Regions from separate parts of the Homo sapiens genome. Here regions 2, 3 and 4 are each linked to region 1. The links are contacts of gene promoters, found by promoter capture Hi-C in blood cells and fetal thymus (Javierre and others, 2016). All regions are on one chromosome and are shown on one strand. The core of a region is centred on a gene start or on the middle of the fragment in contact, and the rest is flanking DNA. Distances in the headings are between cores, read along the strand shown. Region 1 holds the start of KIF5C (kinesin family member 5C). Region 2 overlaps ORC4 (origin recognition complex subunit 4). Region 3 overlaps ORC4 (origin recognition complex subunit 4). Region 4 overlaps ORC4 (origin recognition complex subunit 4).

What was found. The method cuts DNA at HindIII sites, captures the fragments that hold promoters and counts their contacts. A CHiCAGO score of 5 or more calls a contact.
Region 2: a fragment that was not itself captured here is called in contact with the fragment with the promoter of KIF5C in region 1 in 1 of 17 cell types (total CD4 T cells); the score reaches 7.0 in total CD4 T cells.
Region 3: a contact is called between a fragment that was not itself captured here and the fragment with the promoter of KIF5C in region 1, in 1 of 17 cell types (total CD4 T cells). The highest score is 5.2, in total CD4 T cells.
Region 4: a fragment that was not itself captured here is called in contact with the fragment with the promoter of KIF5C in region 1 in 1 of 17 cell types (activated CD4 T cells); the score reaches 5.0 in activated CD4 T cells.

What each region holds. Positions count from the first base shown.
Region 1 is chr2:148,873,623-148,876,647 of GRCh38, forward strand. KIF5C (kinesin family member 5C) reads left to right here and starts at 1,605. Exons shown (of 26, transcript NM_004522.3): 1 at 1,605-2,121. The coding sequence starts at 1,996. KIF5C-AS1 (KIF5C antisense RNA 1) reads right to left here. Exons shown (of 4, transcript XR_001739733.2): 4 at 1-2,573. RefSeq lists a silencer at 1,429-1,898 and enhancers at 2,271-2,849, 2,850-3,025. The HindIII fragment of the contact is 10,493 bases long and covers 1-3,025 here.
Region 2 is chr2:147,943,468-147,946,492 of GRCh38, forward strand. It overlaps ORC4 (origin recognition complex subunit 4), which reads right to left. Exons shown (of 14, transcript NM_181741.4): 10 at 1-55. Among named protein-coding and RNA genes, the nearest start is that of ORC4, 76 kb to the right of the region's middle. The HindIII fragment of the contact is 5,454 bases long and covers 1-3,025 here.
Region 3 is chr2:147,975,315-147,978,339 of GRCh38, forward strand. ORC4 (origin recognition complex subunit 4) reads right to left here. Exons shown (of 14, transcript NM_181741.4): 2 at 588-661. The coding sequence starts at 644. Among named protein-coding and RNA genes, the nearest start is that of ORC4, 44 kb to the right of the region's middle. The HindIII fragment of the contact is 3,279 bases long and covers 1-3,025 here.
Region 4 is chr2:148,008,134-148,011,158 of GRCh38, forward strand. The region is part of intron 1 of ORC4 (origin recognition complex subunit 4); the gene reads right to left. Among named protein-coding and RNA genes, the nearest start is that of ORC4, 11 kb to the right of the region's middle. RefSeq lists an enhancer at 1-1,010. The HindIII fragment of the contact is 5,987 bases long and covers 1-3,025 here.

The sequences.
Region 1 (3,025 bases), core at 355-2,854:
GATGACTTATTTTGCAACCTCCCTTCAAATGAGAGGCCCTACGTTATCTCCCTTGAAAAGGGTTCACTTAATAAATCTAAGTTTACAGAGTGACAGCAAATGCCATTTGCTCAGTTAATAGCTGATGAATGAACAGATGAACGAATGAATGATGACTGAACACAGTGACACACAGATACGTCTCTGTCCACTTGAGATAATCCTGACCTCCTCAGATAAACCAGTGTATGCAAGGTTCTGGGCATCTTCTGGTGGGCTCAGGGAAACTGAGAATTGGATTGTCCTCTCTAGTATATTATGAAGTTGATCATTTAAGATGATGGGTCTCTGAGCCAGAGCCTGAGAATTACTTAATTTAAAAACAGATGAGAAGGTGGCACCTGGGTCTTTTTAATCTACTTCCACTGCACATGAGGAGATGAAATAGAACTGGTACTACTTACAAGGGTTTATAAAAGTTGATTTTAGTAGGTCTGTCCTCTCAGCTAGGCAGAGAACACTTGTATTTTCAGGTATTACCCGAATTTAAGCAACAGATGTGTTCCTAAAATTAACTAACTTATTTGTTTTATGATCATTTGTTCAGCACCCAATAACATCTAACTTTCAAGAGCTTATCCTATATACATGTCAGGCACCGTGCTAGGTGCTTTAAAAGCATCTGTCTTTTAATTCCCCCAGAAATCACAAGATGATATTATTCCAATGACAGAGATGAGGAAACTGAGTCTTAAGGAAATTAAGACTTCTTAATTTCCTCCGCTCTTAATTTCCTCCGCCTGTTGGTCATACATCTAATAAGTGGCTGAGGTGGGATTCACACTCATGCATTGCTTCTTCCTAGGGTAGAATCCTTATTCAGTATGCTGCCCACTATGTGCTAGATGCTACAGACACAAAGATATCAAGCAGATATCACCACCCAAGTGCAGTGCTAGAGACAGGCACAGCAGATTAGGGGAACATCAAGGAGGGCCACCAACTCTTTATAGGTGTTTAGTGAGCTGGGAAAGTCTGAGGAAGGAGGGTTGAGCTAGGTCTTAGAGGAAAAGGAAGTTCTGGAAAAATAGAGTGGACACTCAGTTGTTCTGCCAGCCCGGCACCATGTCTGGGAATACCATCCCTCTTCTTTTGGGAACCTTCCCACCAAGGGATTCCTCCATAATCTTACAAAATCCCTGATTCTGGTTGATTGGTTTAGCACTAGATGCCAACCTAAACCAAGGCCAATCAAACCCAAACTCTGAACAGACATCCATCCTTATCTAGTGGTAGAAGTTGAAGGATGAAACCCAGGGGCTATTGGGAGCTGTTTCCCAAGTGATTTTCTTTTGGGATCAGGATGATCCAGACCCAGTTATCTAGAGATTTTAACCGGAAATATTGGATATGACCTCCATCCGGTTCCGGCTTGGGCAGCCAGACCGGACTTGCAGGCTCTTGGAGGTCGCATCCTGTCCTTCCCCCGGCAGGTAGAGTGACTACAAGTCCCGGGATGCGCAGCGCTCGGAGTCGGGCGGGGGCCGGGCGGACCTCTACGGTGACGTCACCGTCCCGGGGCGGGCCAGGGGAGGGCGGGGCGGAGGGGCGGGTCTCAAGGCGGCAGAGCGCGCTGGTGCTGATGCAGGATGGCTGAGCGCGCAGGAGCCCGGGAGGTCTGAGCCGGGCGAGGCTCGCTCCCTGCGCATCGCCTCCTCCGCCCGCCGCGTGGTCGCGGGCAGGTGGGCCGGGGGGCGCTGGGCAGGGGCGGGGCAGGGCCAGGGCAGGCCGGTCTGCAGCCGGAGGGGCCGGAGCGGAGAAGCTGCCCACCTTCCCGGGCTCGGAGCGGCCGGGGCTGCTCAGCCGGCCGGGCTCGCGATGACCTGCTGAGAAGCGTCGTCGGAGGCTGCAGGAGGCGGCCTAGCTGTGGGCGGTGCAGCTCGCGGCCTCCTCCCTCGTCGTTCCCGGCCCCGGCCCCCCACCCATCCCCGTGCCCCCTCCCTACCGCCGGCCGAGATGGCGGATCCAGCCGAATGCAGCATCAAAGTGATGTGCCGGTTCCGGCCCCTCAACGAAGCGGAGATCCTCCGCGGGGACAAATTCATCCCCAAATTTAAAGGCGATGAGACCGTGGTGATCGGGGTAAGTGGCTGGGGCGTCTGCCTTCCCTGCTGCTCCGCGCCGCAGCTGGGCGCCCCGACGCCCCAGACGCAGCGGAGGTGTTTAGGCCGCCCCCTCGGACATTCCCGCGGGGCTGGCCTCTCGGGTGGACCTGACCAGAGACCCCTCGCCCCGCGCACTATGGTTCCCTCCCGGGCGGGTGGAGAGGCGGCCGGGAGCGGCGGGCCGGGCGGGGGTGGCGGGGGTGGGGATGGGGGGCGAAGACGGGCTCGGCGCCGCCATTGTTCGCCGGGTGGGGGCCCGGGTGGGCCCATTGTTCCCCACGCTCGCCTCGCCGCGTGGGTAGTGTGTTCGGGTGACCCTCAAGCCGGGTGCCCAGGCCCCCTTTAAAGTGTGAGCTCTGCAACCCGCAAATGCTTCTGGGCATCAATCAATTCGATTTACCAAACGCCTTGCCTCTTCTTCTCACGACCCTAGCAAAAAAGAAAGAAAAAGGGGTACAGGAAAATTTCTAGTCGCGTCTCGGAGCTCCCGCGGCAGTGTAGACGCGGCTCCCCGCGGTGTTACACCTGGCTCCGCGCGCGGAAGGCGGAGGGTTGGGGGAGTACTGGTGGCCTCGGTGTCCCCTGGAGGCCTGGTGTGTCTCCCGCTTCCTCTCACGCCTGGCTGCCCTGGATGTGGAGTCCCGGCTTGATCCCTCCCCTCTGGGATGACCTCCCTCCCATGTCTGCAGACCCTCTGATGCGCCTCACGCTGGGTGGAGAGGAGGCTGTGTCCACATCTGTGGGGCGAGGGGGCTCAGAGCGCAGTAGCCCCCTGTGCCAAGAGCAGAAGTTACTTCGTGCGGCTCGGACCCCCCTCCCTCTCTATCTCCCTTCCCCACCTTTTCTCCCCCACCCCCTCCCCCTACTTAGCTCCCTCTCTG
Region 2 (3,025 bases), core at 387-2,886, 930 kb before region 1:
TGATATTGAAATGCTTCTGTAGTACTTCTTGCACACTTCTATCTTCTGAGAGATACTAAAAGGAAAAAAAAAAAAAAAGCCAAAATTGAGGAAAGATGTAGTTTAAAACCTAAATATAATCCTGTGCCTTACTGGTTGGTGTACCTTAGTAACTCTATCTAATATTAATTCATTATTAAATAGATGTTGGTCTTATTTGTAGAACACTAAAACCAAAATAAAGTTTCCAGTCTACTGATTTTCTTATCCTGTTCTTTACGTTAATTCAATAAACACAATGATAAAACAATCCTGGCTAACCCCAAATTCGTACTTGAATAAGGGAAACTACTACACAGTCATACTAGTGAAATGAACAAAATGCAGCACAAAAACAGAAGTGCATGAGTTACTGTACCTAGGGATACAAGGTAAAGTATTACAAAGAATGCTTAAACTGGATGAGACAAGAGATTTAAAAAAGAAGGAAGAACATTCCAGTTACAGGGAACAGCATGAGTAGCAGGAAAATTATCACATTGGCAGAAAATGAGTAGTCACGTACTGGAGTTTCAATTACTGGCAAAGTGAATGTACAAAAAGAAAAGGCAGAAAAACCTAACTGGAGGTAGCTGTCCAGACAAGAGGTAAAGTGGGTCGGAATTATCTGAGTGTTATGAAGAAAAAAGAATTAAGACGTTTATAGGAGTACATCTGGTAGAGAATTAACTGGTAGCAGAAGAGAAGGAAGGGTTTGAAAGGTAGAAGATAAAAATCAAACATGATCTATGGGAAACAAAATGGCCTGTGAAAAGTGAAATGTGGTCAAAAAATGAATCTTGGATTATTAATATTTAAGTAGTAGGTGGGAAAAGAGAAAAACTAAGAAATTAAGAAAGATACCAAAGACTGGAAGAGAATCTAAGACAGAGTAGAGATCTAGAAAACAAGGGAACAAAGTTTTAAGAGAGAAGTGAGGTTCAACAATATAAACTACTTTGTAAAAAGATATATTTGAGAAGAGGCTAATGGCTTTAGAAATTCAAAGATCACCACAGCCCTTTGAGAAAGTACCATCTAAAGAGGCAAGTGACTGCAGTAATTAGGGTTGAATGGAAGGTGAGGAACACTGGCATTGAAGAAAAGATTAGATGAAAAAAGAGTAAATTCAGAAGTAGCAGAGCCAAGAAAGGCCTGGAAAAGATTGTCATAATTTTTCAAAAATCATCTGCATGGAATAAGGATTCTTTTAAAAAAAAAAAAAAGCCCAGAAAACTAAGCATTTCTGTATTTTCTAGAGCTGTAATTATATGTCTTTACTTTGTCCACTCTAAGAAGACCAGATTCAGAAGTAAGTTCTAGTCTACTGGAATAAAATTTTATACTCTCAGGAAATATATTATCTTAATTATAGTTCCCACTCCCTTGCTATTGTTTCTAGTCTTCTCTTTGTATTTTAAAGGACTTCTGGTTACTATATCTTTTTCTATCACAAACACGGTAGAATATCCTTGGAAGTACACAGGGTGAACATAAAAAAAACAAAGTAATACCTTTTGGAAATTAAAAAAAAATTTGTTTAGCTTTTCCAGTTTTAAAATTGCAATATGGAAGATATGTGGCTAAATATCACAGGCAAACTATAGTCTTGGTTTCTGTAATCTGTAAGTTGTAAAAGTTGATGTGGTAAAATCGGAGCACTTAGGAAAACTAAAGAAAATCACCTGGGACAAAATTGAAGAAATTTTCTCTGCAAGAATCAATTATTTTTAAAACCTGCATTTGCCTCTCTTTGACATGATGCTTCAAAGGTTAATCTTCTATACTCCACCTTCCTACTTTATCTCTTTATTTTTTAGTGGTTTGACTCCAATTCCCCCTCTTTCTAAAAGCTATCGCCTTCTTGCTTCTATAATTACTTATTCTGCTTTTTAAAATGCCTACCTTATCTACATGAGCCATTTAAACAAAAAAAATTGTCTAACCTCGTTCATTATATTTTTAATTCCATCTTGATTCAAACACTATACTCTATTTGAGGATAAGGCTATTATCAACAACCACATAAGCTACAGTACTTTGGGAGATTTCATTTGAGGAGAATAAGGTATGATTCTTTTAAATGTTCTTTTCAAAGGATCCCTCTTATACTGCCATGCTAAGATAGAGTCTACTTTGCTTATTTGACTCATTTGAAGTAGGGCTAAAACAAACCTTCAAATTAGGCAGGATATCAAGGTTCAATCTTATCCTGAAGATATTTCTTGGATGAGATTCCATGTGTGACCTGTTATCTGTATCACTGCTATTGGCTTAATCCTGCCATTCAAAATAGCTTCCTGGATAATCGGCACTAAGAGAAAGAATAGCTCCCTTAATGCAGCTACCACCCTACTCCACAAGGCAGGGACTCTGACCATGGTGCTGACAGATTTTTCAAGTGAAGCTCATTTTATTCACATACCAAAGACAGGCACAAGATGATCAGGATAGGGGAAGAAAATATTAGAACTCAGAGACACAAACACCAGTGATGCTGGTTCTACTTAATGAAACTGACTATTAAGACTATCAAAATGATGACAAGACAGTGCTCACATGCAGGGGATTTAAGGTCTGCAACAAAAGTCCAGAAAGTAGATTAGTTATGCTACTAACACATGGTTATCATTTTCTAAGTCACGCAGTTATACTTCTTCACCAGTAACTCCCAGCATCCTCTTTATTTATAGACTCAATTTGAGATGCTCAGAATGCAACACAGTTGGGAAGGAAAGTGGATGAAAAATGGCACAGTGCAACCTAGACCATGTAGTTACCTTAAGAAGATTAAGTGTGAGCAGGTATGGAAAAAAAAAAGCCCATGGAAAGTACAGACATTTAAATACTATGAAAGACTACATTTGAATCTCTAAAACAGCCAGAAAAACATACTGGTGGAATAAGACAATCAGTTCAGGAGTTGTAGAAGATGAAAGTCTGTGAGGCACTGAAAAGTAGATCTAAAAGCTGAAGATCCAGAGGTCTGGTTCACACCAGACCCCAG
Region 3 (3,025 bases), core at 289-2,788, 900 kb before region 1:
CGTAACGGAACTTCCTCAACTTAATAAAGGGCATCTACAAAAAAATCCTACAGTTAACATCATATATAACAGTGACAGACTGAATGCTGCTGTTTCTCTAAGATGAAAACATAGACAAGAATGTCCATTCTTCCCAATCCTATTCAACATTTTAAAGAAAGTTCAAGCCAGGGCAATTAGGCAAGAAAAGGGAAAAAAAAAAAAAGGCATCTAGATTGGAAAGAAAAAAGTAAAAGCTAGAATTCTGACTACCCAGACTTAATAAGGATAAAATTAAATTACAGTATAAAACACTAATATTAAAAAAAATATATGAACTGACAAAAAGGGCAGAGAACAATCATAACAACAAAATCTGTTGGTCCACATTTAATTTTGACAGAGTTTGGAAAATTTTGCTTCCAGATGATTGTTCTTACGACCTTGTGCTGGCATCTCGTTAAGGTCTCGTACTGATATCTCCCTAAGGTTAGAAAGAGTGATTCTTCCTAAATGCTAAAGGGAAAATTCAGGTTAAGAAGATAACTATTTCTCTGAACAGCTTTACAGGGTAAAATATCTTGAGATTAATGAAAATACATACTAACCTGTGAAAGGCACTCTGTGTGAATTAAGCTGTTACTCTTTGATTTACGACTGCTCATTTCAACAAATTCAAATCCTTTAAAAAAATTGGCATAAATATTATAAACGTAGTGACTTAAAGAGATTACTTAAGAATTTACTGTTCTAGAATTAAAATAAATACAAGTTTTTAAAAGTAAAAAATGCTCAAACCCTAAGACCTTCAAAATCTTCGATGGCTTCATTTTGTCTAAGTACAGGCTGATTCAACACTCTCATACCACACTTTAGGCACACTTTGTTTTACTGTGCTTTGCAGATGGTGCATTTTTTTTTTAAAGTAAACTGAAGGTTTGTAGCAACTCTGTGTCCAACAAGTCGATAGGCACCATTTTTCAAACACCATGTCCCCATTTTGTGTCTGTCAGCATTTTTTAGCAATAAGGTATTTTCAAATTAAGGTATGTACATTTTTTAGACATGCTACTACTGCACACTTAGTAGACTAGTATACTGTAAATATAAATTTTATATGCACTGAGAAAAGTTTTGGGTGATTCACTTTATTGTGATATTTGCTTCACTGCAATGGTCTGGAACTGAACCTACAATACCTCCAGGCCTGTATGTGGTTCTTACAGCTACTCCTCCCTTTCGATTAAATCTTCTATTCACCTTCCCTTTCTTCCTTTTTCTTTTTTTAACTTACATGCTTCCTTTATGATTCTCCCACCCATCCATCCCACAGGATCATCCCTTATAGAAAACCTTCCCTTTCTTGCTCCACTCACCAACAATACACAAATAATCATTACAGACTAGGTTAAATGCCTCTTCCTTAAACACTCATAAGTGCCTGTATTTTGCTTTATTATTGAATTATTTTAAACAAAATTGTCTGTTTAATTGCTACTGTTTCCAAATTGAGATTTTTTATATTCTAAGCATTGTAGCATAATGCCCAAAACAAAGTTGGCAATGAATAACTGGAATGAAAAAAAAATTAATGAAAAAATTATATTTTTTGTAAAATTCTCCTCAAGTGTACCATACTCATAGACAAATGACTAAAAGACCTTTGACTAAAAGACCTAATTTTCTTAGCACTGATTTCCTATAGGAATAAATTTTAACAGATAGACAGTAACAGCTTAAGCAGTGTTTAGGTATCAGGAATTGTTACAAATGCTTTGCATTTATCAACTCATTTAATCCTCAAAACTATCATGTGGAATAACTACTATTATAATCCTCTTTTAAGGTTAGAAGACACAGATAGGCTAGGTATGTTGACCAAAATCAAACAGTATATAAATGGAAGAGCCAGGATTTGGATCCAACCAAGTTAACCACTTTTTTAAAAAAGTGTATTCTGGTCTCATCTAATCTCCAGAAGGAACACAGCTTTGCTAACACCCTGAATTTAGCTCAGTGAAAGACATTTTGGAACTTTTTTACTGCCAGAACTCATAAAACTCAAAAAAAGCTGACTTATCATCAAATCACCAATGATTAACATTATAATAATGCGAGAATGACAGCAGCAAGATGAAATAGGAGGCCCTTCAGCTTGTGTCCCCAAATAGCAACAATAATTTCACAGCCACCCACGGACAAAATGGTCTTTGTGTTAGCGTTGAGATTCAGGCAGGCGTCTGTGAAACCCCAGTGGGGCCCAAGACCTGGAAAAGTCAATTGGAGGGCAGATCTTCATTCACGTGACAGATTCCCCAACTGTGGTCCAGGCTTCAGACTTGGAAAGGGCCCTGTCCTCCCGATAGGACCTTGTTACCAGGGGCTGTAGCAGGATATGAACCCTATCTGGTCCCTTGGCGGACTGGACTTTTTCTAGGACCTCGGTCTGTACAGTGGATGAAGATATGCAGAGAAAAGACCTGTTACCAGGTGTGTGGATGGTTTGGCTTTCTCTGGGAACCTGGGAGGGCTCCTACTGGATCACTGAGTAGATTCCTTAACAGGCAGTACTGCCCTAGTCCACAGCTGAGTGGGGCTGGAACTAAGCTACAGGGTTGCTTCAGGGCCTACAGTCAAGACTTAGGTCTTCAGGCCTAAGGTGTCACAAACCTGCATGTCTCCCTTCAGGTCCTTAAGTTAGCGGGCCTGCTGTATTGAGAGGGGCTGGAGCCACTTTTCAGGGGTGTTTCAGGGACTGATGAGGGACCTAGGTCAGGTGGCCTGTTTGCAGGGCTATGGACAGCCCCATCTCCCTCCAGGATGCTGGGTAGGCAGAACTGCTCTCTGACCACAGCTGAGAGGGGCTTATGCCAAGATTCAGGGTTGTTTCAGGACCTGCTGTGGGACTGAAATCTGCCTGCCTGTCCTGAGGACACAGAAGGATGTATCTCCTGACTACAGGAGGATTTCTGTGCAGGATTTCTGTAAGACTGTGGCTGAGTGGAGCTGAATCCCCGATTCAGAGCTTTTTCAGCATATGCTATGG
Region 4 (3,025 bases), core at 243-2,742, 870 kb before region 1:
TCTTTCAGAAAATGCTAAAGGGAAGTTCTTCAATCTGAAAGAAAAGGACATTAACAAGCAACAAGAAATCATCTGAAGGTATAAAACTCACTGGTGAAAGTAAGTGCACAGATAAATACAGAATACTCTAACCGCTCATATCTTTAGCAGGAAGATTAAAAGACAAACCTATATTGTTAGAAGAGTTCTAAACTCTACCTTATCTAGAGAACCTTCTTCTTTTAGAAAATCAAGCAAAACAACTAAGCCAAGACATGTTAAGAAAAGTTTGAAAAGAAAGCTGTAAGGAAATACAAGGGGAGGGATTGTTAGATATGAGTTCTAAATTTCTTTTCAAAGAATTAGTGTGTCAGTATGTTCAATTCTTTGCCTTCTAGTTTTAAACTTAACTTCCTCGTAAAGCAACCTTTTTCGATTACCTACTCCACCCTGACTCATTCTGATCATCTGCTCCACCCAACATTCCAATCACCTGCTCCACCCTAACTCATTCCAATTACCTGCTACCTGCTCTGCCCTGACTCCCGCCAAAGCATTCACCCTGTCATTCTCTTTAAATTAGCCAATTGGAATTAGTTTAGCCCGTGCGGTCTAACCCCAGCCAATAGGGGAACGACAGAGCAGCAGGGGCCACATACGTCAGGGATTAGAACCCCTTCCCATCCCTTGTCCAAATGTGCGCTCACCATTGTTCCATCTGTAAGGGTGCACCCTTCTATATAGAAGTAGCTTGCCTTGCTGAATATTAAAAAGAAAATTTTGTATTCGAGTGCTATTTCTTTTGCAGCATCGAAACTTTCTATATAACACTATCAAAAAAAAACTACTCCAAAACTTAAAATATAAAAATATATAGAGACAAAAAGTCAAAAAGTGAAGGGATGGAGTAGAAGTGTACAGGTTTTTAGTTTTTTCTGTGCGTGTATTTTTTCTTTTCTTTGCAATCAGAGTTGTCATCAGTTGCAAATAATTGGCTATAAATTGTTATTTGCTAACCTCATAGTAACCACAAAACAAAAACCTCTAATAGGTGCACAAAAAAATAAAAAGCAAGAAATTAAAACATACTACCAAAAAATAATTATCACAAAGGAAAACAAGGAAAAAAATGGGGGAAAAGCCCTAGAAAATAACCAGAACAACAATAAAAAGGCAGTAGTAAGTCCTTACCTATCAATAATAATACTGAATGTGAATGGACTAAATTCTTCACTATAAAAACATAGACTAACAACAAAAAGACGGAAAAAGATACTGCACCAAACAGAAACCCAAAAAGAGCCCAAGTAGCTTTGTATCTATTTTTAGATAAAATAGATTTCAACATAAAAACTATGAAGAAAGAAAAAAAGGTTATCATATAATACAAAAGGTTTTAATTCAGCAAGAGGACATAAAAATTATAAATACATATCTATCCAACACAGAAGCATCTAGATATATAGAGTCAAGTGTATTAGAGTTAAGGAGACAGAACCCAATACAGTAATGACTTGGGACTTCAACAGCCCACTTTCACCATTGGACAGATCATCTAGACAGAAAGAAACAATGAATTTAATCTGCACTATAGATTAAATGGACCTAATAGACATTTACAGAAGCTGTCATCCAACAGCCGCAGAATACATTCTTCTCCTTAGCACATGGAACATTTCTCAAGGATGGATCCTAAATTCTCCAATCAAAAGACACAGAAGAGCTGAAGGGCTAAACAAAACAAGGCCCTACTACCTGCTACATATAAGAAACCCACTTCATTTATAAAAACATAGATAGACCAAAAGATGGAAAGAGACATTGCATGCAAACAGAAATCCAAAAAGAGCACCATCATGTTAGGCCGCAAAACAAGTCTGATAAAAAGTATATTTTCTAACCACAATGGAATAAAAGTAGAAATAAATAACAAGTGGAACTTTGGAAACTATACAAACATATAAGAATTAAACAATACGTGCCTGAACAACCAATGAAGTAATTAAGGAAATTAAAAAATGTCTTGAAACAAATGAAAATGGAAACACAACCTACTAAAACTTATGAGATACAGTTAAAGCTAACACTAAAGGGAATGTTTATAGCAATAAATGTGCAAATCAAAAAGTAGAAAACCAAGAAATAAACAACCTAGTAATGCATCTTAAAGAACTAGAAAAGCAAGAGCATGCCAAGCCCCAAATTAAGAAGAGAAATAATAAAGAAAACAAGAAAATAAATAATAAAAAACAGAAATAAAATTGAGACAAAAAAATAGAAAAGATCAATGAAATGAAAAGGGTTGTTTGGAAAGACAGACAAAATCAATGAACCTTTACCCAGACTAAGAAAAGAAAAAAAAGAAGATCCAAATAAAATCAGAGACAAAAAAGGAGACATTACAATTGATATCACAAAAATTCAAAGGATCATTGGAGACCATTTGAACAACTGCATGCCAATAAATTGTAAAACCTAGAAGAAACGAATAAATTCCTAGGCACATACAGCCTAAGAAGAATGAAACATTAAGAAAACCAAAATCGAAATAGACCCATAATAAGTTTCAAGATAGAAACAATAATAAAAAGTCCCCCATCACAGAAAAGGCCAGGACTTCATGGCTTCACTGAGTTCTACCAAACATTTAAAGAAGAACTAACATCAATCCTACTCAAATCATTCTCCAAAATCAAGGAGGATCTCCAAATTCATTTTATGAGGCCAGATTTATTCTTTTTTTTTTTTTTTTTTTTTTTGAGACAGAGTCTCACTCTGTTGCCCAGGTGATCTGCAACCTCCACCTACTGGGTTCAAGCGATTCTCCTGCCTCAGCCTCCAGATTAGCTGGGATTACAGGCATAAGCCACCATGCCCAGCTAATTTTTGTATTTTTTGTAGAGATGGGGTTTCACCATGTCGGCCAGGCTGGTCTCAAACTCCTGGCTTCAAGAGATCTGCCTGCCTCAGCCTCCCAAAGTTCTGGGATTACTGGCGTGAGCTACCATGCCTGGCCCCAGATTTATTCTGATACCAAAACCAGACA